Regions from separate parts of the Homo sapiens genome. Here all the other regions are linked to region 5. The links are contacts of gene promoters, found by promoter capture Hi-C in blood cells and fetal thymus (Javierre and others, 2016). All regions are on one chromosome and are shown on one strand. The core of a region is centred on a gene start or on the middle of the fragment in contact, and the rest is flanking DNA. Distances in the headings are between cores, read along the strand shown. Region 1 overlaps ENTREP2 (endosomal transmembrane epsin interactor 2). Region 2 overlaps ENTREP2 (endosomal transmembrane epsin interactor 2). Region 3 overlaps APBA2 (amyloid beta precursor protein binding family A member 2). Region 4 overlaps ENTREP2 (endosomal transmembrane epsin interactor 2). Region 5 holds the start of NSMCE3 (NSE3 component of SMC5/6 complex). Region 6 overlaps ENTREP2 (endosomal transmembrane epsin interactor 2).

The links. Contacts are between HindIII fragments. The CHiCAGO score rates a contact against its expected background, and 5 or more counts as called.
Region 1: a contact is called between a fragment that was not itself captured here and the fragment with the promoter of NSMCE3 in region 5, in 3 of 17 cell types (naive B cells, megakaryocytes and total B cells). The highest score is 5.7, in naive B cells.
Region 2: a fragment that was not itself captured here is called in contact with the fragment with the promoter of NSMCE3 in region 5 in 1 of 17 cell types (naive CD8 T cells); the score reaches 5.4 in naive CD8 T cells.
Region 3: a contact is called between a fragment that was not itself captured here and the fragment with the promoter of NSMCE3 in region 5, in 1 of 17 cell types (naive CD4 T cells). The highest score is 5.4, in naive CD4 T cells.
Region 4: a contact is called between a fragment that was not itself captured here and the fragment with the promoter of NSMCE3 in region 5, in 2 of 17 cell types (megakaryocytes and total B cells). The highest score is 5.7, in megakaryocytes.
Region 6: a contact is called between a fragment that was not itself captured here and the fragment with the promoter of NSMCE3 in region 5, in 2 of 17 cell types (total B cells and naive B cells). The highest score is 7.7, in total B cells.

The regions. Positions count from the first base shown.
Region 1 is chr15:29,427,839-29,431,673 of GRCh38, reverse strand. All of the region lies in intron 1 of ENTREP2 (endosomal transmembrane epsin interactor 2), which reads left to right. Among named protein-coding and RNA genes, the nearest start is that of ENTREP2, 140 kb to the left of the region's middle. The HindIII fragment of the contact is 2,550 bases long and covers 595-3,144 here.
Region 2 is chr15:29,130,097-29,134,201 of GRCh38, reverse strand. The region is part of intron 7 of ENTREP2 (endosomal transmembrane epsin interactor 2); the gene reads left to right. Among named protein-coding and RNA genes, the nearest start is that of NSMCE3, 140 kb to the left of the region's middle. RefSeq lists an enhancer at 1,233-1,849. The HindIII fragment of the contact is 7,022 bases long and covers 1-4,105 here.
Region 3 is chr15:29,097,070-29,100,915 of GRCh38, reverse strand. It overlaps APBA2 (amyloid beta precursor protein binding family A member 2), which reads right to left. Exons shown (of 15, transcript NM_001353788.2): 9 at 2,340-2,426. Among named protein-coding and RNA genes, the nearest start is that of NSMCE3, 170 kb to the left of the region's middle. The HindIII fragment of the contact is 7,917 bases long and covers 1-3,846 here.
Region 4 is chr15:29,450,204-29,454,419 of GRCh38, reverse strand. The region is part of intron 1 of ENTREP2 (endosomal transmembrane epsin interactor 2); the gene reads left to right. Among named protein-coding and RNA genes, the nearest start is that of ENTREP2, 120 kb to the left of the region's middle. The HindIII fragment of the contact is 4,810 bases long and covers 485-4,216 here.
Region 5 is chr15:29,267,761-29,271,786 of GRCh38, reverse strand. NSMCE3 (NSE3 component of SMC5/6 complex) reads left to right here and starts at 1,965. Exons shown (of 1, transcript NM_138704.4): 1 at 1,965-4,026. The coding sequence starts at 2,082. The coding sequence ends at 2,996. All of the region lies in intron 2 of ENTREP2 (endosomal transmembrane epsin interactor 2), which reads left to right. RefSeq lists enhancers at 1,669-2,168, 2,169-2,670. The HindIII fragment of the contact is 8,019 bases long and covers 469-4,026 here.
Region 6 is chr15:29,396,326-29,400,262 of GRCh38, reverse strand. All of the region lies in intron 1 of ENTREP2 (endosomal transmembrane epsin interactor 2), which reads left to right. Among named protein-coding and RNA genes, the nearest start is that of NSMCE3, 130 kb to the right of the region's middle. The HindIII fragment of the contact is 2,489 bases long and covers 1,063-3,551 here.

The sequences.
Region 1 (3,835 bases), core at 620-3,119, 160 kb before region 5:
GCCAGGGAGTATAAAATCATATTATGAACAGACTAATGAGTTTACCATTGCTTAGATCTAAAAATAATTTTAAGAAAAATGGTTATATATGTTATATAAATTTTGGGAGAGGGTTTCACAAAGTAACTTTTATTTTGTGGGTTATATTTTTGCTAAAAGCATGTCTGTAAAATGTCTCCGGGGCAAGTTATAAAATTATATTTTTAATTAATTTAAATATAATTTAAAATAAAATTACAGTTTTAGGAGAATGACTCAAAGCAGTCTAACAGTTGTACAAGATTCAAAATGACACAGCTGGATCCTACTCCAAGCAGACCTGTTTCATCAAAATTTTAGATTCATAAAAACCATAAGTTATATAGGATTCTTTACTTATCACAATAAACCATACGTGCAGGGGCCAGCGTGGCATCGCAGGAGGGAAATTTATGGCCTGGGTATAAACCGAGGCTCCCCTGTTACTGCCAGCGTGATTTTACCCGGGGTTACGTAACCCGGCCACTGGTATCCTTAGAATACCAGATTATAATTGCATTTCCCTCTTTAGGTCCTTGTGAGGATTAAACAGGTAGAGTGCCCAGATGTAAAGCTTGAAAACAGTTTGGGCCCGCAGTGTGCCTCAGCCACCCTGAATACATGCTCCTGGAATGGGGTATATTTAGGGCAAGCAGCAGAAACCAGCTTTGGGTAGCTACGCACAAAGGAGTTACTAGAAAGACATCTGGGAGGGTGGGAGCTCACCGGAGCCGTGTCAGTAAGACCAGGAACCTGGGGACCATGAGGATCTCTAGCACAGTTTCATTGGACACTGCCTCTCTCTCCTTATGTCAATCCATCCGACTCAGAGTGGTCATTGGCCCTTTTTTGGGGAGTGGGTGGTCTCCAGGATAATTAAATCTAGGTCAGATTAGGCCTTGTTTTACCGAGTGATGGGTGTACCTCCATTCCTCCCTCCTTCCTCCCATCCTTCCCCCACCCATCTCTCAATGCATTCTTTTTGTTTGTTTGTTTGTTTGTTTTTGAGATGGAGTCTCACTCTGTTGCCCAGGCGGGAGTGCAGTGGCATGACCTTGGCTCACTGCAACCTCTGCTTGCCTCCCGGGTTCAAGTGATTCTCCTGCCTTAGCCTCCCGAGTAGCTGTGATTACAGGCATGTGCCACCATGCCTGGCTTCTCAATGCATTCATAATGATCATAGTCCCTGCTATGGGCCAGGCCTGTGCTGGGAGCTGGAGATACTGCTTTGGAGAAGACACACCAGGCCTCTGCCTGGCGAGTACACGTCCTAGAGCAGGAGAGACAGGCAAAAAATAAGGAAACCATTTCATACAGAGATACATGTTTAAGATAAAACTGCAAGGCCATCGAGAGGGGCCAGGGCTGTGCTGTGGACTCGGGGCTCAGCAGGGACCTCTCTGAGCCTGTGGCCTTTGAAATGAGGCTGGCAGGATGAGTGGAGCCAGCCATGGGAGGAGCCTTTTATCAATGGGGGAGACAGGTGGTATCTCTAACTCACCTTCTGAAAGAAAGCCTTCTTGCCTTTCCCCACTTCCCACTTTCTTGTTTCCGCTTCCTCCATTCCCAGGTTTTCCCCACGGAATTGATTTCTCCTTAGAGACAATGTGTATGTGGTGGTTGAGGTCTGTAACACAGGCTTCTGGGTTTCAGAGGAAGTAAAGGTTCAATAGGTATTTGAAAGTCTGCGCCCAGCCCTATTGTATAGATGGGGTATGTGGGTGGCTTTACATCAGGCGTGGATGAATGAAGCCACCTGGCTCGCTAGGAGTGCCTTTTGGTAACGGCTTCTTGAACTGGGACTCCTTCCCTCATCCTCACCCCATCATGGAGGTGCCCTCACGCCGGCCCGGATCGGGCATTGCACAGCCCTGTTGGCATTCCATACCTGCTTCTCTGTATTCCTTTGAGAACTACGGGGTCCGTAGTTTCAGCTCATGGCTGTCCGTAGATTTCAACCACAGACGAATTTGTCCCTTCTACCGGATCCTGTCAGAATTAGGACAGAGGGGAGGAAGGACTGCAACCAGCAAAGCAGGTGATGTTTTTAATGGGTTACATGTGCTAGAGAGTATACATGTAAGTACAAAATCCCAGCTCCAACGTGGGAGTCCCAAATTCAAAAATTAAATATTGGCTGGCCATGGTGGCTTATGCCCGTGATCCTAGCACTTTAGGAGGCCGAGGTGGGAGGATTGCTTGAGGCCAGAATTTCTAGACCAGCCCTGGGAACGTAGTGAGTCTCTGTCTCTACAAAATTTTTAAAATTACCCAGGTGTGGTAGCGTGTGCCTGTGGTCCCAGCTACTTGTGGGGCTAAGGCAGGAGGATTGCTGGAGCCTGAAAGGTTGAGGCTGCAGTGAGCCAAGATCGCACCAGTGCATTCCAGCTTGGGCCACAGAGCAACACCCCATCTCAAGATAGATGGATGGATGGATGGATGGATGGATGGATGGATGGATGGATAGATAGACATCTCAAGATGGATGGATGGATGGATGGACAGATAGACATCTCAAGATAGATGAATGGACGGATGGATAGATAGACATCTCAAGATGGATGGATGGATGGATAGACAGATAGGCAGATAGATAATTAACAGTGCAGGCATAGGATGCAGGAGACCTATCATTTTGACAGCTAATGTAAAAATAGATCTGGGTATGTCAGTTGAGAGCAAGTTCAAAGTGGGCAGATCTCATCAGCCACCCAGCAAATCCTCAATGCTGCAAATTCTGCTGCCTCTCTGTGCAGTGAATGTTGTTGCTTGTGACACTGGTGATCCGTGACTATATTTAAAACCTTTTATTTGGCCAGCCTTAGGGATGACTGATAGCTGCATTTTTGTATTTCCTGGTTTCTAAATGGGATGCCGTTTCCTGACATTTTCATTACTCTCACTTTTGTGTGTGCTGGTGAATGGCAGCACAGGAAACCCTGCATTATGAAGTCTGTCAGTGCTGGCGCTATTTATTATAGAAATAGTGACACATTTGGAATTTGGGCATGTACTAAGAGGACTGGCCTTTTAAGTTCTGTTTCCTAATAATGTATTTAAACAATTCAGAAATTTTACTTTTTTTTTTTTGGGAAAAGAGCTTAAGACAGATGGAAAAGTGAAGCTTTAAAACATGGAAGTGGCTGGGCACGGTGGCTCACACCTGTAATCCCAGCACTTTGGGAGTGCAAGGAGGGTGGATCACCTGAGGTCAGGAGTTCAAGACCAGCCTGGTCAACATGGTGAAACCCCATCTCTGCTAAAAATCCAAAAAAATAGCCGTGTGTGGTGGCGAGCACCTGTAATAACAGCTACTCGGGAGGCTGAAGCAGGAGAATCGCTTGAACCCATGGGGCAGCGGTTGCAGTGAGCCAAGATCGAACCACTTCACTGCAGCCTGGGCGATAGAGTGAGACTCTGTCTCAAACAAACAAACATGGAAGTATGTTTTTTGAGTGTATCGGAGTCTCCACAGGGTGTCATCTTGATTCTGCTGTGGAAAGTGGACTTGGCTTTGGGTTTGACTTGTATTTTTCCCCAATGATTCTTAGACATTTCTGTTCTGTCATTTAACTTTCCACTTAAAAATGAATTCTGGGTAGGTCTAGGTACATACTGCAATATTTTATCTTAATAAATTGTCAAGGATGGTGTTTTGTTTATATTATGATATTTATCACTCTGTTGGTTTCGGACTTTTAAGGTGATGGGTCTGAAGAGTGTCCTAAAGGAAAAAGCTCCAGCCACCATGTAGTGGGTGTGATTTGGTGTTTCTCACCAGGCAGTCTGCTGGTTCTTGTTCAAAGTGCAGGTTTCT
Region 2 (4,105 bases), core at 660-3,159, 140 kb after region 5:
AATGTTGTTTAGTTTTCCATTTATGATAAAAATAATTCAAATCAATGTTATCAGTGGAGACAGTTGGCTGTGATAATAGTTGTCATCAGCACTGCAAGGGGAGCCCAGTACACTGTGGGGCACCTGTCATGATGTCAGGCCCAATTTGGGGGTCCATGGAAGGTCTGGGAGGTCAGGCTGGGTGGGCATCAGGCATGCGAGGTGCAGGGAGTGGGGCTGGAAGGGCTCCTGAGAGAGGGAACAGCCTGTGCAAAGGCTCAGAGGGAAGAAGGACAGGCACAGCGTATCCCCCAAACAGAAGGTCGTCCGTAAAGAGTCTCGGATGAGTGTGCATGGGTGTTGACCTGTCTGGGTGTGGTGGGTTGAATTCTGAGTGAGTGTCCACCAGATGACAGGAGCTGTAGTTCATAGTGATCAGAGTTAGCTGCCGCTGTCACTGGGGCCTGGGAAATGTGAGAGAGGGAGCCCCACAGAATGACACCATTGCAGGTGGCAGGAGAAAGGCACCCCCACACACGACAGGCTACAGGGCACTAGGCAGGGCTCCCAGGAGCCTGGATTTGCCAAAACCAGCAGTTCTGGAAGAAAGCAATGGGTCAGGTGCTGTCCAGAAGCTAACATCCAGGGCCACGTGGCGCACCATGGAGGGGCTGCTGGTGGCCTTGGCAGAGCAGCTTTGATGCGATGGAGGGCAGGGCTGGACCACACCAGGTAAAGGAGTGGACGGCACGTGCGCAGGGGAGCGCAGGTGTGGCTGTGGTTTTCAGACACCAGTGGGTGTCCCTGTGGGGAACTTGATAATCAAATCCTAATGACTGGGCCCACCCCCAGGGCTCCTGAGTCAGTAATTGGGGTATTGAAGTTGGGGGTATAAAAGCCTCAGCCCTGCTGCTGCTCCCACTTTGAGAGCAGGAGTAGATCACTCTCGCAGGATGTTTGGTAAAGAGGAGAGAAGATGGGATGGTAGGTAGAGGGGAGTGTGGATCTAGGACCTTGAGGAGGTTACCAGGCAGATGTGGAAGGACCTAGATACTGGGGATGGCAGGCCCAGGACAGGGCCCTCCGTGAGGGAAGCCCCTGGGAAGGCAGAGGGGAGGCTGACCGAGGGTGCAATGGGAAGCTCCATGCTGTAGCCAGCAGGGGCACCGGGCAGGGCGGCAGATGGACCCGGAAACCCCTGAAGGCGGCAGGGGTGTGTGGTTCCCCATGGCTGCCTTGTGGCGCGGGGGCAGCTCTGTCCCCTTCACCGCCTCTGCTCAGTGACCCTGCCTGCTGCCATCACAATTCCGGCTCTGCACTGGGACTGGCTCTGAGCCTGCTTCCCGGTTCTCCCTGCCCCTTGGACCCCTCTGCCTCCTGACGACAGGAACCCCTGTCCGTGGAGCCCAGACCCTGGCTTCCCGAGGGCCCTGCCTGCTGGAAGTAGCTTCTGGACCTGGGTGTGCCATTCAATGTCTGACCTCACAGCGGCCCCCGGAAGGAATGGGTTCCTGTTGTGTTCACAGTTTTACTGTTTTCTCTGAAGAATAGAATATATTGGAAGGGATCTGGCTGGTTCTGAAACCAATGCGACACCCTTCTCCAGAACTCTGGGGAATTCTCTCAGTTGAGATCTCTTTCTCAGAACTGCGGTGAGAACAGCTGAAAGGTCAGAGGCTGATCTCGAATTAGCATGTGTTGGCTCGGAGACCCCCAGCTCCCAGTGCTGGCAGGGGCACAGCACGACCGCCTGCAGGGCCTGTCCCTGGGCGCCCGCCTGGCAGCAGGGCAGCATCTGGTGATGAAGGGGCCGCTAGAGCCCTCGGGCCCACTGTCTTTGACCCCATGGCCTGGGAGCACTTTTCAATTCACGGCCGTGTCTGGGAGTCTGGAAGTCAAAGAAACCCATTACCGTCCACAGAGGGAAGGCCGTGCCGCCAGCTGCACCACCAGCTGTCCCCTCCCCAGGCAGCAAGGCCCCTCTGACTAGACAGCAAGGAGCACCCCTTCACAGCACGACCCCGCAGCCCGGGCGAGGCAGGGTCAGTAGTGCTCCTCCTTGTTAGGACAAATGGCGTAGAAAGTGCCCTCGGCCTCAGTTTGGATAAAGAGAGGAGGCTGCAGAAGGCGGGCTCTGTCGGGGAGGAGCTGACTCTGGGGCGGGGCAGGGGGTGTGCTGGGGAAGAGGTTTAACCCAAGAGGGGGCGGCCTCCACGAGGGTGGGCTCCGTGAGCACTCGCATGGGTGACGGGCCGTGCACACTTCCCTTCCGGCTTAGGTCAGATGCCATTCTCTTTCCTGTGGTTTGAGGCTGTACTCTTCAGCCAGTGTTCAAGGAGTGAGTTTCTTTTGATAGCAGGAAAGTGATTGAGAAATTACCAGTTTGATCTTCTTGTCTGGGTGGCAAGCGTATGGTTCAGGGGCCACTGACGACGGTGGCCCTCCAGAGGATGTAGGACAGAATCCCCCTGTCGTGGCACTCTCGCACTCTCACATGGAGACCGGACAGACACGAACTCCTTTGAGGCTTCTGCAGAGGAATCGGGCCTGGTGATCTGGGTGGGCTGGGGTGCGTGTAGAGGGGGAGGTGATATGGGGGGGCTTGTCGGGCTGGGGTGTGTGAAGGAGGGGGAGGTGGTGCAGGTGAAGGTCACAGCACCAGCTAAGGCGCATGGCAGGACAGCCTGGAGCCTGGCTGTGGGAGCTTCAGCACCCCAGGGCTGAAATCATTTGGGCAGATATTTTATGGCTTTGGATGTCAAACTGTAGAAGTGCCCTTGAGGAGTTTGGCGTCTTGGGTGCGACCCAGTGATGCTTTAGGAGTTTAATTTGGTGGCAGCATGCCAGGTGGAAGGGAACCTGAGTGCGAGACAAGGAGTTGTGAGAAGGGAGAGGGACCAGCAGAGTCCAGGAGCAGCACCAGGTCCTGACACTTACGATCCACATAAAATCTGTTAGCAAAGTGTCTTCAAAGTTTGCCTTGAGCCACCAGCCTAAAATTTTAACTCACATTTTCCATAATCGCTGGAATTGCCCCAAACGAAGAGCTCTTCATAAATCTGTTTCTAATGGTTGGCCTCACCCAGGAGTGGGAAACTACAGAATGGGGCAGAATTTCCATGCAAGTGTCTTAGCTTCATACAATTTGAATTATTTGTTGAAAAGCCAACTTATTTTCCAGTTACGATGACTGTTCAGAATAGCACATCTGCAAACCAGTAAGACCCAGGTGAAGTGATTCCCACAGCGTCTCCTGTCAACAGCCCTCTCCCCGCTCTCCTTCTGTAAGGAGCTGTGTTTATGAGCTTCCTCACTGAACTCAAATTTCAACTTAAATTCTATGCCACAAATATATTTCTTCCCCACCCTTTTCTACTGCTGTTATAGTTCATCAAAAATGCTGTATGAAAGGAAGTGCTATTTTCCCCATGGCTTAGCGTGGCAAGGTGGCTTCTGACATCAGGGAAGGGCCACATTTAAATTAAACTCTTGACACTCTGCTTGCGAGAGGTGATAGATAGGCTCCCAGGAGCTGCCTCCTCTGGAAACCAAATCTGACCGGGAGCCAGAAGGAAGTGAATGATGCTTCTGCACAACATGAAGTGAATCCAGTTTCCTCCTGACCTTGTCCCACTGTATATTTTCTTTCTCTTGTTTTATTTATATTTCTTTATTACCAGAAGATTTTCTTTTAGACAGCGGAGTTCTAAGTTAACCACCCGTCTACGATCCAAAAGAAAAGCAAGTCCGAGAGAGGGTTAGATACGGGAGGGGAGACACAGGATGAAACAAACCGTTAGGACATTGTTCGCTCTTTGTGATTCAGTGGAAGGTTCTGGACAGAGATTTCCAGGACTGGTTATTGGCACATAATGACTTCAGTGAAAAAGCAGGTGGGTGCTGATGGTGGGGTGAATTCTCCCTCACCGATTCCCTCCCAGCAGAATGAGAGGGCTAAGGAAGAAAAATAGTATGGACCGTATTATGCGAAAGCATCTTAGTGAGATCAAAGGACGCACTTGGGCAGCTCTCCGTCTTCTCTTTGTCTCGGAACCACCTCTCGAGCCCCACGCTGTGGGGGCAGCTCACACCCTTTGTGTGGGTGGGAAGGCTGCAGCCCCAGCCC
Region 3 (3,846 bases), core at 1,009-3,508, 170 kb after region 5:
GCTTCCAAAATGGACTGTGCAGAACCCAGGGAGGCGTGATGTCAGGTGAGCTCTCGGGCTGTCTCTGCTGGAGCAGGGGCTTGCCATATAGTGAAACCCATACATTCCCGGATGAGAGGCCACCAGTGGCTCTGGAGAAGGGTCCCTTCTGAACGAGGTGCTCTCCTATGGGCCCAAGAGTGGCCTGGCCTGGCCTTCCTGCTGTGCAGAAGAGGAAAGCATCAAGGCCAATGTTTGTCATTCAATGAGCTCTTCCCAGGGAGCCCAAACAGCCTGGGCCTGGGTCAAAAGACACCAAGGTAGCCCACCTGACTTCAATTCCCTCGGCCTCTGGCAGGCCCATGACTCTTGATGGTTTTTTGTCCTTGGACAGGAATCTCCAGCCAGCATCTTGCCCACAACCCCTACCTAACAAGACTGCACACAAAGCTCAAAAAAACTAATCAACTGGTCTTTTATGCTTTTGTCCTCTGTTCACAAAAGAAACTCGAGTGTTTCTGCAACCTCTGGACCTCATTTCTTCCTCACAGAATCCACTTTGCAGTGCATGCTGCTTCACCTTTGTCTCAGCTGCTGACTTTTTTTCTGGCCAAAGCCATGAGGCTGTTTCATAACCACAAGAGTCACCTTCCAGGGAGGGACACTGAAAGGAAACAGTTGGAGTGGCTCTTCAGCATCTCCTGATTTCTGTCACTGTCATAAATGCCTGAATCAATCCCCAGGTGTCAGAAACATGTTCCTTCCCCAGCTCCTATCAATGGCAGATCCCTCCTCCTCCTCACAGAGGCTGCCTACCAACATGGCCGCATCTGCTCTCCTGCTCTGAATGGCTACTTTGGCCTTCCCAGTCTCTCACCTGTTCCCTCCTCTCCAGCTCCTCTGCCCCAACAGCTTTAATTTGCATGCCCTGTCCAGAATCCAAAGATCCAGAAGGGAAAGGAAAGGAAGGGAGAAGGGGCCAGTGGAGTGAACCCTGAACTGGGCCAGCCTAGGAGATTTCTCATCTCTCCTTCACAGGATCCAGCGGAAGAGTTACTCTTTCAGCTGGGGCTGTGGGTATTAGGAGGTTCAGAGATGTTCAGGAACTTGTTTAAGGCTATACAGCTCATGAGGATGGGGCTCAGCTTCAATCCCCAAGCCCATCCTCCCACCCCAGGTGTGGCACCCTCCATGTACACTGGCAAGAAGAGGTACTGGGGCAGGCCTAGCAGCTGTACCCAGAAAGGCCCGCCTGCAAGGCTGGCCCTCTCTGGCATCTGGGAACGTGGATCTCAGGAGGGTACCCAGCACCCGAACTGACAACCATGGTTCCTTTTGCCTAAACCGTTTGTGCAAACAACGTGGTCTAGGCTGGACACCTCTTTTGCCTCTGGGAGTCTGGAATTTTGGTAGCTGCCAGGCAGAGGGTGCCTATGACCAACTCCCAGTAAACACCTTGGGCTGAGTGTCTATGAGCTTCCCTGGTAGACACAACTTCTCTGTTGTCACAGCCCCTTGCCAGGGAGTTCAGTGTGTCCTGTGTGACTGCGGGGAGGGCTCTGGAAGCCTGCATCCGCTTTGCTGATTCTGCTCTGGAGCCATCTGCTGAAATAAATCTCAGCTGTGAGCTCACTGAGTCCTGTCAGTCCTCCAAACCACCCAGCCTGTGGTGGTCTTGGGGACACCCAGCACAGGTGGGTGATGAGGCATGGGGCTCGGAGGGTTGGTGGGGGGATCTAGTCCAGATGGTTTGCCCACAAAAGATCAGAAAATGAAGTCAAAGTCTGTGAAGCGTCGCAAGCCCAGTGCCTGAGCCCTGGCACCTGTCTCCCTGAGTTTTCACCAAGTGCCAGGCTCCAGGAGGGGGCTGGTTCCAGGGTAGGGGGGTGCAGGACACAAAGATCAGTGGGACAAGGTGCAAGCCTGGACACAGGACAGACATGGGATGAGGAAGGGCGCCCCTGTGCCCGTATCAGGGTATGTGAGGGCCTGGAGGATGGTCAGGGCACGGCACTGGGTTGGGAGTGGTGGGCTGCAGTGTGAGCCACATAGTGGGGGCTGCTGCCTCCTCTGTCCCCAGAGGTCAGGCTACCCGGGAGTGGGGAAGCAGGGGAGGGCCCAGGTAGCCCAGCAGGTCTTCCCACCTACCTCCCGCCCGCAGAGCCCTGGGGTGACGCCAGCACGACTGCTACCTGCTGTGCGCTCCTTGCTCCTCCCGCAGCCCGGGCTATGGGCCTTGGGTTGATGGGCGCAGAGAGCACAGGAGAGAAGCTGCTGAGAACGAGGGCCTATACCATGGGACAAGAAGGAGTCGAACTTAGGAGTTTACCTGATTTTGAACAACTGTCTTAAACGCTTACCTGCGTGTCTGCATTTAAAACCTTGATCCTCTGGGTGGAAATGAAGAGGTCCACTTCCGTCAGCGTCTGGGCATCCCCCTCAGAATTCTAAGAAGGACAGTGGATATTGTTAAAGTCCAAAAACCAACTCGGAATAGAGGACATGCAAATAGCATTATGACAAAATGCTCAACATCCCTAATCACCAGATAAATCCAAATTAAAACCACAACAATATATCATTTCATATCTGTCAGAATGGCTCTCGTCAAAAAGATAAAAGATAAGAAGCACTGGCGTGGGGTGGAGAAAAGGGAACCCTGGTACACTGTGGGAGGGTGTGAATCAGTGCAGCCACTGTGGAGAATAGAATGGCGGTTCCTCCAAAAATTCAAACTACAACCACCATGTGATCCAGCAATCCCACTGCTGGGCATATTTCCAAAGGAAGTGAAATCAGCGTGTCTAGGAGACACCTGCACTCCCATGCTCACGGCAGCACTATCCACAACAGCCAAGACATGGGATCAACCCGAAGTCCATTCACGATGAATGGATAAAGAAATGTGGCGCGCAGACACACTGGAGGCCTACTCAGCCTTCACAAAGAAAAAGCCATGTCATTTCCAACACATGGATGACCCTAGAGGACATGCTGTGAAGTGAAATCAGCCAGGCACAGAAAGATAAATACTGCACCATCTCACTCAGGTGGAAGCTACAAATGTCGATCTCACAGAAGTAGAGAGCTGAATGGTGGTTATCAGGGGCTGGGGCAAAGGAGTGAAGGGGGAAGTATTGGTCCACGGACACAAAGCTCCTGCTAGACAGGAGAAATGAGTTCAAGAGATCTATTGTGCATCATGGTGACTACCGTTAATAATATTTCATATTCTTAAAAATTGCTAAGATAGTGAATGAAGTGTTCTCATTACAAAAATTAAAACTAGGTGATGTAATGCACGTTAATTAGCTAGATATAGTCATTTCACAATGTGTATATGCTCCAAAATATTATGTTGTACATAACAAATACATACAATTTTATCCGTCAATGTAAAAAGTAATAACTCGAAGGAAGGCTCGGCAATTTTAACAATTACCCAGAGTCCACGTAGAAGGAAATGCTACTGGCCATCAGAAATCTACCTGCACGCCACCGGCCGCATCATCTAGCTAAGTGTGAGTTCTCGAGGCAGTCTGTAAGAGGCACCTGGGAGGGAGGAGGGCCAGCCCCCGGGAGCTTGACCGAGATGGGGCGGGACGCCTGGGTCTGTCGCCACAGCCCCTCCTGCCAGTGGCAAGCAAGGCCCTCTGGCTGACCCCTGTGGAATTTATAGACTCAGGTTACGTTTCCTGGATTTGGGATTCTAAGTATCCTTAAGAAATGGGGAAGACATTGTCAGAGAAGCTGAATGAAAATGTCAGCCTTTCCTTCTGATTTAATCAGTCACCACCATGTCCATCCCACAGCGTCCTTGGGGGACTGAGCCCTGGGGCTGGCCTAAGTGCTGTCCTCACAGCGACA
Region 4 (4,216 bases), core at 1,640-4,139, 180 kb before region 5:
TTGACCACACATCCATTAGCATCCTGTGTGTGTCAAACAGCATCAACAGAATTGGTAAATCAGGACATACGCTGTCCACCTGCCAATCCATCCCTATTATACTAAAAGCAGTCATAAATCAATAAGAAAACATTAACATCAAATGGAAAAAATCTGCAGTGGACTCTAGTTGGCAAGTCACTGAAGAAAAATAAAAGGCAAATAGAAAAGTACCAAACCTCACAAGTAATCAGAGAAATGCAAATTTAAAAAATTCTTTTTTGTTTTTGGGTCCACCAAACTGGTGCAGTCTCATAATTATTCTCAGTATGGGTGAGTGCTGGAGGATGAATACTCTCATACTCCAGTGGAGGAAATGTCAAGTGATGGAACCTTCTGGAAAAGAAGTGTTTGTGACCTTTGACTCAATCATCCTCTTTCTAAGGGTTTATATTAAAATCGGAGATGTCAGTATCATTTGTATGTAAAGAGACTCACTGAAGCTTTACTTATCATAGTTGAAAATTGGATGCAGCTTGAATATCTTAATAATAGCAGGGTGGTTATACTATGTCATTCCCAGATTCTGTGGCCATTAAAACCGTGCTTTCAAAGAATATTCAGTGGCCTGGAGAAGGTCTCATGTTATTTTAAATGAACACAGCAAGATTCCTGCTATACAGTAGGATTCCAATTTTGTACAATGTGCATGTACAAAAAAAAAGTCTGATTGGAAACACATCAAAATATTAGCAGCAGTGGTTATTTCCTGGTGGTGATATACGTTATTTCTTTTCTTCTTTTCTGTGTGTTCTCCACTTCCTTCCTTGAGGATGTATTATTGAGATAATTGGACAAGAAATCAACAGGAAGTGTGCAGCCCAGCCCAGGGCACTCTGGCCGGTGGGGGTGTCTATGCTCTGTATTTGCTGGGGCAAAGCTAGCAGGTCCTCCCCAGGCCTTCTGTGCAGACCTCTGCGAAGAATCCTGCTCAGCAGTAGATATTTATTGTATTTTAATATCAGGGCCAAAAGCTACAGTTCACTTTTCAGTTAAGTAAATGTGTGCTTTTCATCCCTGGGTTAGTACACTGCTTGTGAGGCACAGTCCTCCTCCCCTCCGCCACTTCCAGGACAGGGCTGTGAAATTGTCCTGCCGTGCCTTGCAGCACCGTGATCACTGCACCACAGTAACAGTCCTACCGGCCTCTGAGGCTTAAGTGCAGATTCTTAAGAAGTTATTACATTCTCTCCCCCTGCACCGGGGTGTTCAGTGAAGGCCGGTGACTGTGGTGTGGCATTGGCAGGCCACTAAACAGCCGGGAAATTTCTGATCTCCTTTTTTATTGTGATAGAAGACTATTTGTGGTCAGTTGCCTCGAGGTGATTTTAGAAAGGGCAGGAAGCAGGGAGGCATTTCCTTTCATGTTTGCTCGTTACTTGGCTCTGCCTCCTCCGGTTTAATTTCCTCTCGGCCTCTCTCAGCTTTTCCACTCATTTCTGCCTGCTTGTCCTGCATCCCCTGCCGCTCAGCCGGCCTGACCAGGTCTCCTGAGGCCTTCTTTCTCTTCCTCCTGCCCCTCCACTGGGATATGGCTGCTCTTTACTCCCCCCAACCCCCCACCCTCTGCTTTTGGGTTTTGCTTTAAGTGTTATGTTGAGACACCAGTTAAATATATTCCTTCAGATATGAGAAATGCATTCTGTATTTTAAAGATGAGAGAGCTCCCAGTAGCAGAAAAGACGTGGATTTGGGCAGCATGCTTGCAGAAGCATCTCTGGAGCCTGGAGCGCAGACTCACACCTACCCTGTGACGCTAAAGGATTCCCGTCTGTTCTTCTTAAGAATCTGCACTTAGGACTCAGAGGCAGGTAGGACTGTGACTGTGGTGTGGTATAATTGTCTCTGATAGGCCAGATACTACCAAGAAAACAGAAGCAGATGAAACAGCCAAGCAGCCCGTGTTCTGCTTATTCGCCACATCACATTAGTTGAGCCCCATTCCATACCATGTGGCATGAGGCCTCCTTCCTGGTGTTTCAGAGGCTTCTGGGAGCTGACGAGGGTGAAGGGCTATGGCTTCCCTTCTCTGGTTACTGCTTGCCCCAAATCCCTGCTCTCTCAGGATTCCCAATATCCACTTCCCCTCTTGCCTGCTCTGGGATGGGGAATGGGAGATGGGGGTGGGTGAGGGGCTGTCAGCACCAGGTGCCAGTGCTGCTGAGAAAGCAGATGGTTGTGGGTAACACTAGAGGCCACTCATCATTTGTGCCTTAGTGTCAATAAAGTGTGTGTTAAACATTTCTGGGTTTGGCTTAGGGAATTAATTGAGAGTTGTCTATATAGAAAAGTGTGTAAAATGTGGCTTAGAAAACATGCATTTTAAATGAGTAAAAGTTAACAATATAAAAAGGCATTTGATGGTCTAGAACATTTTTTTCAGGAAAAAGGTTTTAAAACCCTTTAGTGAATACACATTTACTTAACTGAAAAGCGAACTGTAGCTTTTGGCCCTGATATTAAAATACAATAAATATCTACTGCTGAGCAGGATTCTTCGCAGAGGTCTGCACAGAAGGCCTGGGGAGGACCCTCTGGCTTTGCCCCGAGCGTTGCCTCCAAGCTAGGCTTGCCAGTGAGCAGGACTTGCAGGGGGGTGGGGCCCCTAAGGTCACTGGGATGAGCAGGACAGTGGCTGTGATAGGAGTGGTGGCCCCTCGAGGGAGCCCTGCAAGGTTCCGGTGGGGAGGGGGCTTCGCTGCCTGCAGTCTTAATTCCTCACTGATAGTGAAGACCCTCCCGTGGTGGGCAGAGGGGAGCTGCTGGGCTGTTCTTGAACCATCCTTTCATGCATTTCAGTCACGCCCCGAGTCATCCACAGCTGCCCTGACCTCTGCCTGCTCTCTGTGTCCCTGTATGGACTTGCCTGACTTGTGACTGGCCCCTCTCAGCCCCTCGCGCCCCCGACATGAGCTCTCTGTGACAGTGGTCTGGGAGTGCCTTTTCTCTGTGGGGTCGGTGTGCTGTGTCTGCAGATGCTCAGCTGAGCCACCTGCTGGCCTGGTCCTGCAGACTCCTGTGGGAGAGGCGAGAAGGGGTGGGGAAGGATGTGGAGAAGTCCAGGGTACCTAACAGGCGAGAGGCGAGGGCCGAGGGCCGAGGGCCGGCCAGAGAGCTGCCACCCCCCATCATCAGCGAAGGACCAGGGAGACCGGGGCACTCTTTCTAGACCCCATAGGGATTGGGGTGGGGCCACCAGAGGCTCAGTGGGAACAACTGCAGGGAGTGGACAGTTACTCTTACTTATTTGGAGCTGTTAACACTTCTTTTTTTTTAACCTTTATTTTAGGTTCAGTGCAGGTTTGTTATACAGGTAAATTCGTGACTTGGGGGTTTGGTGTACAGATTATTTCCTCACCTGAGTACTAAGCATAGTACCCAACAGTTTTTTTTTTTCCTGAATCTCTCTCTCCTCCCACCCTCTTCTCTCAAGTAGGCCCCAGAGTCTGTTGTTCCCCTCTTTCTGTCCATGTGTACTCATTGTTTAGCTCCCGCTTTTAAGTGAGAACATGCAGTATTTGGTTTTCTGTTCCTGCATTAATTTGCTAAGGATAATGGCCATCTATGTTCCTTTGCAGGAACATCATTCTTTTTAATGGCCGCATCATATTCCATGATGTATATGTACCACATTTTCTTTACCCAGTCTACCATTGATGGGCATTTAGGTTGATTCAGTGTCTTTGCTATTGTGAATAGTGTTGCAGAGAGCATATGCATGCATGTGTCTTTATGATAGAATGATTTATATTCCTTTGGGTTTATCCTCAGTACTAGGATTGCTGGGCTGAATGGTAATTCTGTTTTTAGCTCTTTGAGGAATTGCCACACTGCTTTCCACAATGATTGAACTAATTTACACCCCCACCTGCAAAGCAAGCAGTGGGGAAAGGGCTCCCTATTCAATAAATGGTGCCGGGATAGCTGGCTAACCATAGGCAGAAGACTGAAACTGGGCCCGTTCCCTTCACCATATACAAAAATCAACTGAAGATGGATTAAGGACTAAAATGTAAAAACCCAAAACTATAAAAACCCTGGAAGATAACCCAGGAAATACCATTTTGGACATGGAAACTGGCAAAGATTTCATGACAACACCACCAAAAGCAAAAATTGACAAATGGTACATAATTAAGGAGCTTCTGCACAGAAAAGAAACTATCAATAGAGAAAA
Region 5 (4,026 bases), core at 716-3,215:
GGCAAGCTACTGCCTTAAAATCCGAGCTCCCCAAATGCACAATTTCTGTCCCTTTAAAGAGCTCACAACACTAAAGATTTTACATGAAAGGGTCGTGATTGATCAGAGCAAGCAGGCGGTATGTGACAGGGGCTACATGCACCGGTGGTCAGAGAGAAACAGAACAGGGCAGTTCTGTTCTTTATACAATGTTCTTCTATACAATGTCTGGAATCTATGAATAACATCGGTTTCTAAGTTATGAGTTGATTTTTAACTACTGGGTTTAGGCCAGGCAGGCCCAGGCCTGGTTTTGGGCCTGGCGCTGGGCTGCCTGTATTTGGTTTTACTTCCTTGTTGTTTTTTCTTAAAACAGGTACTGAGTATAAAACAATATAAAACAATATGAGACGGTCTCTCTATTCCCTCAATACAACATCCACATCCTGCAGTAGGGACCTTTTGCAGAATTCTAGATGGCAGGAAGCTTCTATGAACCTAAGTCCAGATTTTAATTTGCAAGGAAACTGAAGCAGATGAATTTTCTCATTGTAAAAAAATGAATGCCTTGATAATATATTTGTTTTTCATAGTAGGCCTTTGTCATTAAAATTGATGCCTGAGGATATAGTTGCATCTTGTGTGGAACAGTAAGTTATTACTCATTGCATACCAGATTTTAGCATACTTGCATTAGTTCATGGAATATGATTTTACATTTACTATTGCAGTTCCAGTGCCATTATCAGATTGCATTTTCCTACTGAATTACAAACAAAAGTGTTATGCTACTAACAATTAACAAAATTTTAATAAGGTTGTGTTTGATGCTATTACTCAGATAATGTGTTCTAAATTGCTTTCCTTTGAATATATTTGCATTAAAGAGGAACTCAATTTGGTTCTTTGAAGAGTTTATCCACTTTCTGGGTAGCTTTAAAAAGACACAGGGAAATTCAGTTTCTTCTTTGCAAGTAAATAGAGAAGAAACAAATTTGCTAAGATCTGTAGAAGTCATGGCAGCAGACTGCTGATGGTTTGAGTTAATGAAATGACTCATTTTGGCTACTTGAGTTGCACAATTAAAATATACAGTAGAGACTGTATATCACATCATAGATGAGAGATAAATCCCCCAGTGTTCTCTTTTTTTTCCTCAAAGCTAATATATTATGAATTAAGAAATTTAAGAGCTCCACATTATTGCAATTCTTGATCAGTGATGCCCCAAATTAAGTAGTAATCTCTTGAGAGTGCACGTTTGTTTGCAGCATTCCTCTTACCCATTTCTGCTAAAATTGTGGTTGTGACGAAAGCAGTTGTTTTCCAAAAGATAAACCCATGTGACCAAGCTAAAACATTTACCTAATACTGACACGTTTTTTGTGGTCTTCTCATAGTTGTCTAGCTAAAGGAGTTTAATGCAGAGAATATAAATACGGAAATAGTGAAACTGAAGTCCTGCTTGCGCAGAAAGCCTGCAGCCGACTTTGGTTTTTAACAGACTCCACGGGGCATTAGAGAAAGTAACTGGGGGCAGTGGGATGGAGGGTATGAAATTGGGTGGAGGGACGAAAACTAAGAGCCCTCTGGGTCTTTTATGTCCTTCTACATTTTGTGTAGAAATAAATGTTTTTACTTTACTTCCACGGTCGGCCCTTCCTCTTCACCTTTTTTTTTTCTCACACGTTCATCCTCTGAATTCTTTCCGTTTACAAATGCTCCCGATTTAGAAACTCATAATACTGTCTGTAAAACTTGCCTGAGCCTGTGTGGTCTGAATTTAGCGACACACTTGTTTAGGAGTTTCGGTTCTCGCTCTCTGTTTGCATGGTTTGGTAACAACACTTCACTATACTAAAAATCATCGCCCGGACCTGCAGGGCTGCACGGAAAACGCTGTTCCTTTTGGTACCCGCCGCAGCCGCGCAGGCGCACCGCCCAGCCGCCCTGACGCAAGGCGCAGGCTTCATGACGCAGCACGCAGTCTCAGCCGACACTGCGCGCGCCTCCAGGCACCGGCGTTAGCGGGTCGCCGACCCGCAATCCCCGCCGCGGCTGCTTGCCTACCGGAGTGTGCGCCGGCACCTGCCGCCGGAGACATGTTGCAAAAACCGAGGAACCGGGGCCGCTCTGGCGGCCAGGCCGAGAGGGACAGAGACTGGAGCCATAGCGGAAACCCCGGGGCTTCGCGGGCCGGGGAAGACGCCCGGGTTCTCAGAGACGGCTTTGCCGAGGAGGCCCCGAGCACGTCCCGCGGGCCGGGCGGCTCGCAGGGGTCGCAGGGCCCCTCGCCTCAGGGCGCCCGCCGGGCCCAGGCCGCCCCCGCCGTGGGGCCCAGGAGCCAGAAGCAGCTGGAGCTGAAAGTGTCCGAGCTGGTGCAGTTCTTGCTGATTAAAGACCAGAAGAAGATTCCGATCAAGCGGGCCGACATACTGAAGCACGTCATCGGGGACTACAAGGACATCTTCCCCGACCTCTTCAAACGGGCCGCCGAGCGCCTCCAGTACGTCTTCGGGTATAAGCTGGTGGAACTTGAACCCAAGAGCAACACTTACATCCTCATCAACACCCTGGAGCCTGTGGAGGAGGATGCCGAGATGAGGGGTGACCAAGGCACGCCCACTACGGGCCTCCTGATGATCGTCTTAGGGCTCATCTTTATGAAGGGCAACACCATCAAGGAAACTGAAGCCTGGGACTTTCTGCGGCGCTTAGGGGTCTACCCCACCAAGAAGCATTTAATTTTCGGAGATCCAAAGAAACTCATTACTGAGGACTTTGTGCGACAGCGTTACCTGGAATACCGGCGGATACCCCACACCGACCCCGTCGACTACGAATTCCAGTGGGGCCCGCGAACCAACCTGGAAACCAGCAAGATGAAAGTTCTTAAGTTTGTGGCCAAGGTCCATAATCAAGACCCCAAGGACTGGCCAGCGCAGTACTGTGAGGCTTTGGCAGATGAGGAGAACAGGGCCAGACCTCAGCCTAGTGGCCCAGCTCCATCCTCTTGAAAGGTGGATTCAGAGGGACCCCCGGGACAAGGGTCTGAGACCCAAAGGCACAGTTTAGAGGATTGGGGGAAGGGAGAACGAACCCAGGGAGCATATTGCTGTAAACGCTTCAATGTGTGTAGCTTTAGGATGTGTTTGCAAAGTTTTGTTTTTTTAATGTTGTGTTATTTTGCTCCAGATTTTCATCTATAAACAAAGGAGCATTTGTTTTGATTTTACTCTTTTTGGTATAAAAAATTTTGCTAGCTTAGTAAAACGAATTGGAAAACTTGACTATGATCTGGAACAGATAATGCAAGAAGGAACACATAAGTAAGTTGCTTTGGTGCCAAGAAAATAAAAAAGCTATTATCAGGTCTCCTAACTACCCCAGTTTGTAAGGAAAAATAAAAGTTTTTATAAAATTAAAAAAAATAATTGCCTATATCCTTATTATGTTAACCTATTTTATTTTTCTATATTTCGTACATATATAAGTATTATTCATGGTTCCAAGCAATGAGTGTAATGTATTTTCTCCCAATAGTAATTGTTTATATTCATAATTATTCAGCTCTGCTGCTAAACACGTAGTTCCACTTCGTTTTTTTCTTCTTGCTACTGTAGTTATTACAATAAATACTGTATTTTTGAAGCACTTAAGCATTGTGTGTTTTTTAAATCGTGGGTCATGAGAGAATTTCATGACTGGAAATCAACATCTTAAAGTTTTTGCTACATATTAAGGTCAATGCTGTTTTGTAGAAGTTGTTTCACTTTTGTGTGAAACAAAATCAGGATCATGAGGTGAAATATATTTCTCACTGTGGATCTCAAAAAGGCTTATAAAACAATAGCGTAACCATTAACCATGCCTGTTTGGGAATCGGACTGTCTGGGTTGAGATCCTGGCCCCACCATAACTAGTATATGAATTTACATAGGTTCCTTAGTTTGTATGCAGATGTTTCTTGACCTGTAAAATGGTTTTAGTCCGTGATGTGGAGAATTTTATTTGTTATTCTTTAATGTTTTTATTTTTTATTCTCCT
Region 6 (3,937 bases), core at 1,058-3,557, 130 kb before region 5:
CAGTCTTTGCTTGCACATATGTAGGAAAGCTGTTTGTCTATAGTTTAAGAGCTTGTGTCCTAACCCTGCCCATCATTGTAACGTTGGGCAAGTCACTTAATCTCTTTGTGCTTTAATTTTCACATATGTGCACGGGCACAAGAGTCACACATACTAATTAGGGTTGTCAGGATAAAGTATAAAAACTTAGTAAGTATATCTGGCATATATTCAGGGCACAATAAATATTGATCCTGTTGACCTTGAACAACATGCGTTTAAACAGCATAGGTCCACTTATATGTGGATTTTCTTCCACCTCTGCCACCCTGAAATGGCAAGACTGAGCCCTCCTCTTCCTCCTCCTCCTCCTGAGCCTACTCAACAAGAAGATGACAAGGATGAAGGCCTTTATGATGATCCACTTCCACTTAATGAATAGTAAAATATATTTTCTCTTCCTTATGACTTTCTTAATAGCATTTTCTTTTCTCTTTATTGTAAGAATACAGCATATAGTACATACGACATCCAAAATGTGAATGTGTGTTAATCAACTGTTTATCTGATTGGTAAGACTTCCAGTCAACAGCAGACTATTACCAGTTAAGTTTTGGAGGAGTGAAAATGTTATACATAGATTTTTGACTGCACAGGAGGTTGGTGCCCCTAACACCCCTCTTGTTCAAGGGACAACTATATATAGTATTATAATTTTCAACATATTGATTTTGTAACCAGGTAACATACTGAATTTTCTTATGGTTTCTTATTCTTCTGAATCAATTCCTTTGGGTTTTCTAATTAGGTGATCACTTTATTTTCAAATAGTAATGATTTTGCTTCTTCTTTCCAATGTTTATAACTTTCTTTTATTTTTCCTTTTTAGTGTTATTAGCTAGATATATTAGTTTTCTATTGTTATGTGGCAAATTGCCACAAGCATAGCAGGTTCAAACAGCTCAACCTTATTATTTCAGAGTTTCTAAGGGTTGGGACTCTGGAGTGTTTTAATTGGGTCCTGTCCTCAGGGTCTGCAGGCTGAAATCCTGGTGAGGCTGGAAGCATCTTCATCCAAAAGCTTTACGAGGGAAAGATCCACTTCCAAACTCCTTCAGGTTGTTGGCAGAATTCATTTTGGGGGTTGTGTGACTCAGCCCTGCTTCCTTGCAAGCTGTGGGTGGGGAAGCTCTCAGCTCTTAGAGGCATCTCACCACATGGCAGCCCACTTCTTCAAGGCCAGCAGCACAACTTCTTACACCTCAAATTGGGACTTCACCAAGGGCCCAGAACCAAAGGTCTTGCCTGATTAGGTCAGGCACACCCAAGAGAACTTCCCTTTTGATGAACTCAACAGCAAACTGATTTGGGACCTCCCATCCACCATTGTCAGGCAGCGTAACCTAATCACATACATATTCACAGTCCCACCCACGGCCCAAGGGAGAGGATTACACAGGGCAGGTACACCAGGGAGTGGGGACCTTGGGGGCCATCTCATAATTCTGCATACCACACGAGTACTTTCAGAATCATTTTGTTTTATTTTATTTTATTTTTGAGACGGAGTCTCGCTCTGTCACCCAGGCTGGAGTGCAGTGGCGTGATCTTGGCTCATTGCAACCTCCGTTTCCCGGGTTCCAGTGATTCTCCTGCCTCAGCCTCCCGAGTAGCTGAGACTATAGCCATGTGCCACCACACTCAGCTGATTTTTGTATTTTTAGTAGAGACAGGATTTTACCATGTTGGCCAGGCTGGTCTAGGACTCCTGACCTCAAGTGATCCGCTAGCCTCGGCCTCCCAAAGTGCTGGCATTACAGGTGTGAGCCACTGCCCCCAGCCCTAAGAGTTCTTTTTTAAAAGAGAGGATGGAGATCAAATTCTATTGGACGTCTTCCATGCATCTACTGAATGAAAGAATTTTTCATTTTCGTCACATTAATATGCAGAACCATCTTTTCATTCCTGACGTGAACCCCCATGTTCTTCATTCTTTTAAATGTACTGCTGAATTCTGTTTTCTAACCTTTTATTTAAAAATGATGTACCAGTAAAATTATCATTTTAATGCACTGTCCTATGAGTTTTTGGCATTTAAATTTGTGTGTTTATATCTAGTATGTGTAGTAGATGAGGAATGCTAAGTTTTTGAGTCTCTGTCTTTCATGTTTGGTTTTGTTTGGATGTTGGCCCTTGAAGTCAGGGAGAACCTGCTTTGTGAGGGGAGGGAATAACTTAATGTAACTTTTGCCAAATAAATAATGAGGGGGAAGGAGTTAAATATCTGAAAGAGTCCAACAATGCCTGATACATGGGGGAAATTCATTAAATATTGATCCAGCACAGGAAAAATAAAATAAAAACAATGTACTTCTGTTTAAAAGCCACTGGTCTGTTCCTTATTTTTGTGATATTTTACAGGTTTGTGATTGTTACACTGACCTTTATAAAGACAATTTGGAAGTTCCCCCTTTTTTCCCTCTGTGCTCAGAAAAAATTTAAACAGCTTTGGAAATCTTCATACGTAGAAGTTTTTGAAGACTTTGCCTACAGCTGTTTGAGCATATTTCCAATTTCTTGGTGTTTATGGGAACAGTTAGTGTTTTGGTCTTTTGGGGAATCAATTGTAGTAATTTAGCAAGTTATCTTTGTCATCCTGGGTTTTGAATTTATTTGCATAGAGCCCATGCTTTGTTTATTATACTTTTTGCCAGTTGACAGCATCGCACCTCTTAATGATGTACATTCTCTACAGCCCTGTAAGTGAGGACCACTGTTCTTTCTAACCACTGCTAGCTTGACAGGCAGCAAGGGACCTCTTATTCCACTTTGCATTTTATTGATTACTTACTTATAAGGTGTTTTTCTGAGTAAATTTTTTTTTCCTTTTTTTAAGATGGAGTCTCACTCTGTCGCCCAGGCTGGAGTGCAGTGGCACAATCTCGGCTCACGGCAACCTCTGCCTCCTGGGTTCAAGACATTCTCCTACCTCAGCCTCCTGAGTAGCTGGGACTACAGGCACATACCACCATGTCTGGCTAATTGTTTGTATTTTTAGTGGAGACAGGTTTCACCATGTTGGCCAGGCTGTCCTCGAGCTCCTGACCTCAAGTGATCTGCCCACCTCGGCCTCCCAAAGTGTTGAGATTACAGGTGTGAGCCACCCACTGTGCCTGGCCTCTCAGTAAATTTTTTTGAGGAGCAGTTGCCTTTCTGTGAGTTTTAGCCAGTAACCTGGGTGGTTAATTATTTACATTTAATATTTTAATCATCTTGTAATGTATTTTGGTTTGTGGGAGGGAACTAATTTTAATTTCTCTATCTGCTTATTTATTTACATTTAACAATTATCCCAGAACCATTTATTGAATAGCCTTTTCCCCCATCAGTTACTATGTCACTCCTTGTATAACTGAATTATATAAATTAAATTGTAAAAACTAATTTAATGTGTTCACATGCAAAAAAAATGAAGTTGGACCCTTAACTAACATCCTATACAAAAATTAACTCAAAATGGATTAAAGACCTAAACATAAGAGCTAAAGTTATAAAACTCTTAGAAGGAAGCTTAGGGGAAAAGCTTTACAACCCTGGGCTTGGCAGTGATTTCTTGGATATGATGCCAAAGGCATAAGCAACAAAAGAAAAGTGGCAAACTGGACTTCATCAAAATTAAAAACTTGTGCATCAAAGGACACTATTAAGAGAGTAAACAGGCAACCCACAGAATGGGAAAAAGTACTGGAAAATCACATATTTCATCAGAAATTATTATCCAGAACATATAGAAAACTCCTAAAACTCAATAACAAAAAAGTAAAGAACACAATTCAAAAATGGGCAAAGGATTTTTGGCAACATGGATGAACCCAGAGGACATTATGCTAAGTGAAATTAGCCAGACACAGAAAGATGAATACTGAATAATCTCACTTGTCCGTAGACTCTAAAAAAA